Regions from separate parts of the Homo sapiens genome. Here region 2 is linked to region 1. Evidence: promoter capture Hi-C in human tissues and cell types (Jung and others, 2019). All regions are on one chromosome and are shown on one strand. The core of a region is centred on a gene start or on the middle of the fragment in contact, and the rest is flanking DNA. Distances in the headings are between cores, read along the strand shown.

Region 1 (2,700 bases), core at 139-2,638:
TACTTATTTCTTCATGTCTCATTTCCTCTGGAAAGCCTTCCCTAATTCTTCAGAGCTGGGTTAGATGCTCCTCCCACAAGCTTACAAAATACTGTAAAATCACCTGACCACAGCACGAGGCATTGTAACTGGCTACCTCCTCTGTATACATTCCGCCCTTTAGATTGTAAAATCGGGACACAGACTGTCCCTTATCTTGCTCAAAAACCTCCAAAACAAGGTGCTTAGAAGGAATTATATTTATTTTTTAAAAAATAAAGGAATGTTTACTACAAAAGACACAATCTTTGGAGCTAATTCTCTCAAAAAGTTGTTTCTATATGGACAAGTAAAACCAACAGAATAAAGTGTGTGCCAGATTATCCGTTTAAAAATATCTGGGCAAAGTCTTCATGCTCTGAAAATGTCCACGCATCCCAACTGACAGTGGAATTCAGAGGCAATTCAATAATAGTTTGACCTCAGACCCACTCCCTCCAGCCTATTTTCTGCCAATCTAACAAACAGCTTTCCACAATTATCATTACCTATTTTCTACTAGTTTTCTCATCAGTATCGGTATTAGAGTGTGCAGGATTTAAAATCAGTATCTTGAAGGTGGAGAAGAATCCTTGTAATAAAAGCAGAGGCCACAAAATGTTATTTGTACCAACTACCTGGGTACCTGCAAACATAGGCCAAAGCATTCGGCCCTGTCATTCACTCTTTGCCCCTGGGAACAGCAAAGATACCGCTGGAGCCACTGCCTGTCAGTCCCCTAGGAGTGAGTCTGTCATCAGCACCCGGACCCTGCAGAAAGGCCCGTAGTGGGCGTATCCCCAGCTTCCCCGAGCCCCATCCACACAGAGCGGCCCTGCCTCTGCGAGCTGAGTAGCGATCGGGATCCTCTGCACCCGCTCCACAACGGCGAGGCCTCCCTGCCGGAGCTCCGAGGGGCGGCCAGGTCCTCACCCACCCCCGGCCGCGCGTCGCCGCCCACCTCGCAGTGCAGGAGTTCGGTGCCCGGGTCCTGCCGCCCCGCGATCCGGCAGAACACGCAGGTGCTGTCGTAGTCCTTGGGCTCTGGTGACTTGCCAGCGGCTTCACAGGTCCCCACTGAGGAAACCGTAGTTTCTGCAGTCGCCGAGGCCTCACAGTCGGGGGCCAGGCCGGCGCTGCGGTTCACCTGTTCCTCCGCCATTGCACCCGCCCCTCGCGGCCTAGAGCCTCGGCCTCTCCAGGGCTACCGGGCCCGCGCAGTCTCCGCGTCCCGCACCTCCTCCGTTTTACCTCGAGACGTCGCCCCTCGCCTGACGCTGGGCGGTGATCCAGGCTTTGGGGAGAGGGAAGGAGACGCGGTGAGGAACTTCAAAGCCGGAGGCCGGCCTCAAAACCGGCTGCCACTAGAGGGCGCGCAATGGCGCTGCCGAGAGTCGTCCTGACCCCTGCGCCTCGTTGGTAATGACGCACGACGTCTGCCAAGTCGCAGAGCGCCCAGCGCGTCGTGGTGACATCACAGAGGCGCGGGAGCGTTTGACATAATGGAGCTTGTTGGGTGTTCTGGACAGGCGTTCTTCAAAGCCCATAGTATAGCGTGTCCAAATATTGTATTACGCTGCCGTTTTTTTAAAAAAAAAAACAAAAAGTTTTTTAAAGTTTGATTTTTAAAATTCGTAGGTTTTTAAAGAATGAGCAAAATTCCTAAAGCCTTGTTTTCAACAGACATCATGTTTGCTGCTTTTTCAGCCACGATAATTGTAGGAGTTTAAACTCAAAATGTCCAAAACTGACCTTTACATCTCTGTTGACTTTTTATTGTTGTTAACAGCACAGTTAGATCAAACTAGCGACCTTTTTTTTAATCTCACATTCCTCATATACAAGTAGATGTGGAGTCCTATAGTCAATACTCTGAAATATCCCAGAAATTCAATGCCAGTGCCTCATAATGCCTCACCTAGACCAACGCAATCACCTTCTAACTTACTTATTGATTTTCCTGTCACTCAGACAAAACCTTCTGTAACTATGTGCTCAAAGAAAAAGTACCAGTTCCTTAGCTTGGTGTTCAAGGTGGACTCTGATTTGACCTCAGCTTTTCGTTTTGTGATACTTCCCACTTGCTGAGCATCTAAAACATGCCATATATTTCTCTAATTGTCAAAAAACGCAAGGTTGGTTTTATAACCACCGCTCTAGAGATGAAGGACCAAACTCAGAGTTGCCCAGTCCCACACAACTAATTAATAGTGACAGAGTTTAAGATCAAGGTTTGTCTAACTCCAAAACCCACCAACCTTTTTGACATACAGCACTCCTTTTTTAACACCAAAAAATTTGTTGGACTAGCTCACTATAGTAGTTACACCCTTGGTATTTGCTGATTTAGAAAATACATAACAAATTGGGAATTCAGTAATGATTTTTAATGGATTTATGTTGTAATAAAAAGTGGTTGTATGTGTTTTGAATTGTTGTACATATACATTCAAGACATTTTTCATTCCTTTTTGTAGTTGGCCCGTAGTTTGGGGAACCACTACAATAGCTTCACTGCCTTTCAGCACCCCAAAGCAGAGTTCAGAATCAATACATTAGAGTTTTGCCAAATTTTAGTATTCACAATTTCCATGCCTGTACTACACCTTCACATCACTGCTTTTATTCACACAGTTCTCTCTCAAATATTCTTGTTTCCATCTCTTCACTCCAAATTCTACC
Region 2 (2,745 bases), core at 49-2,548, 430 kb after region 1:
TGCAGAAGTATATAAAGAAAAGCTATAATTCTTTCATTTAAGTCACCCATTCAAAAAGCGCCCATGTTATATATACTGCATATATGTGCTTGAGCGAACACACAAAGAGTTCATTTGCTCTGTAGATTCTAAAAGGAAGAATCTTCTGCAGATAGCATTTCTGAAGGTTTCTCACCCTTCCCTTTGCTTTCTAAGGCATTGGAACAATGTGGATCCTTCCCAGACAGTCAGGCTTACTATAAAAAGTAACACCAATCATGGGAATTATAAAAGGAGAAGGGATATGCCATAAACAAGGATAAACATCTTTTTTAATGCAAAGCTGTCAGATCCACTTAAGCAGAGACCTGTTCCTTGTCCCCACAGTGGCCCCTCTTTCCTGTCCAGGGACCAACGAAGCCAGCCTTTCCTCCTAAGTTGCCCATGGTGAGAGGCTTAGATAAGGCACAAAGTTGCCCTCAATAGACTTAAAACCCCCATCTCTGGGACAAAGTGGGAAAGCTCTACTTTTGTTACCACTCTATCGAGGAGAAAAAAAAAAAAACAGGGAAAACATCCACTGTACAAAGCCTACATTGTGTGCTGAAAAACCCTGATCCTTGACTATTGTCTCCAGCATTATTTATGCAACAGAGATGATTTTTCAGAGGTTCAGTAAAATTATCAGCAGGGACATTTTAACACTCTATGTTTATTTGTTTAGTACAGTCTCCATTTTCTAGGAGAAAGAGAGCTAAAATATTTAAGCAACTCTTAAAAGTTATAGAGGGAAGAATAATTGTTCATTTCTCAATAGGAAAGCCCTTTTACTGTGAAATCCTCAGATATGATAGGCAATGTAGTTTATTCCAAGCCTTCAGAAATTGATTCTATACACACGATGTGTAGAAATGGTTTCTATTTACACTGTTAATTATATGGTATGTATAGTGTATATACTGCATATTATCATTTCAATCCTCTTTTATGTGAACTAGCCATGATAGCTGTTTCTGACCAACTCCAAAATTCAACTAGGCTTTAAATTATATATAATGCTTTTAGCTCATCAGGGAGATGAGAAACTGGGGAGATGGGGAGGGAGAGGTGGAGAGTACCAAGGGCAGAGAGATGAGGGAGGGGCAGCATGTCCTATGGGGCCCCATGCCCAGGTTCTAAATTACAAGTCCACACTTTACTCATTAATAGACTCTAGTAAGTATTATTCTGCCTTGATTTTTATAAGCTACAATATTGGGATAATGATACTTTCCTTACAGACCTCCAGTTACACATGTAAATACCTCCATTGTAAAATGGTCATGAAAAATAAGCTTAATGGTAGTTAAGTACCAAAGGTAGATAGCAGCCCAGAATGACTTAGTTTTCTGTTTTACCTCCCCTTGAGAGGCTAAAAGAGTCTTGAGAAACCTTTGCTAGATGATGCCCATGAATTTTCAAACTAGAATATACTATCCATTCAACAGATATTCATTACTTATTTTATGTCAGGCACTATGCCAGACACTAGAGGAATTCTGCAAAGTGCTTCAGGGATCCTCAAATGTTTGGTTTGAATTTTATTCTAGACATAAACTTCAACTATTTTGTAAAAAAGAATAGAAGTGGCATGTGTGTTCAGGGTACTATATATTAAATTTTAACTCTTTAATATCACTCCTACTTTATCTTGTACTCTCAGGTTTACTCATTTTGTATAAACTCAAAATACATTTCTTCTGCCTTCAGTGGAAATACTTTTACTTCTCCTAAATGTATCATTAATTAGAAATGTAATGGTGCCTAAATGTTCATTTAAAAATTTAAGACTTGCGGGTGTGGTTGCAGGGAAAAAGGAACTCTTATACACTGTCGGTGGGAGTGTAAATTAGTTCAACCATTGTGGAAGACAGTGTAGCGATTCCTCAAAGACCTAAAAACAGAAATACCATTGGACCCAGTAATCTCATTAGTGGATATATACCCAAAGGAATATAAACTATTCTGTTACAAAGACATATGCATGTGTATGCTCATTGCAGCACTATTCACAATAGCAAAGACATGGAATCAACCTAAATGCCTGTCGGTGGTAGACTGGATAAAGAAAATGTGGTACACCACATGCATATACACCATGGAAGACTATGCAGCCATAAAAAGAAATGAGATCATGTCCTTTGCAGGAACATGGATGGAGCTGGGGTTAGTTTGCTTTAGCAAACTAAGGAACAGAAAACCAAATACTGCAAGTTCTTACTTATAAGTGGGGGCTTAATGATGAAAACACATGGACACGTAGAAGCAGCAACACACTCTAAGGCCTTTTGGAGGGTGGAGGGTGGGAGGAGGGAGAGGATCAGGAGAAATAACTAATGGGAACTAGGCTTAGTACCTGGTGATGAAATAATCTGCACAACAAATTCTCATGACATAAATTTACCTATATAACAAACCTGCACATGTACTCCCGAACTTTAAAGAAAGCTTAAATTAAAAAAACAAAAAGAAAATTTAAAAAAAAAGGAAAAGAAAAAAAATCAGGACTGCTCACGTCTACTTGGGTATAACTATATAAATCTTACACTGACAATTGCACTCCATTAAATGCCAAGTCAAGTGCAAGGATCTATTCAGAACAAATTCTGTTTCCAGCATAACGGCACAGTAGTGCAAATATAAATGACAAGTTACCTCATTCAATATAGTTTGGAATACTTACTGTAAATTTTGAATGCTTCTCTTCCAATCTCTATATTTATGAGA

What was found. Contacts are between HindIII fragments. The study calls those that stand out against the background at their distance.
Region 2: a contact is called between a fragment that was not itself captured here and the fragment with the promoter of HINT3 in region 1, in 1 of the 25 tissues and cell types used here (H1 embryonic stem cells).

The regions. Positions count from the first base shown.
Region 1 is chr6:125,955,458-125,958,157 of GRCh38, reverse strand. HINT3 (histidine triad nucleotide binding protein 3) reads right to left here and starts at 1,388. Exons shown (of 5, transcript NM_138571.5): 1 at 980-1,388. The coding sequence starts at 1,180. RefSeq lists enhancers at 166-215, 1,276-1,375 and a silencer at 886-1,105. The HindIII fragment of the contact is 11,405 bases long and covers 1-2,700 here.
Region 2 is chr6:125,522,371-125,525,115 of GRCh38, reverse strand. No RefSeq gene overlaps it. Among named protein-coding and RNA genes, the nearest start is that of LINC02523, 150 kb to the left of the region's middle. The HindIII fragment of the contact is 5,304 bases long and covers 1-2,745 here.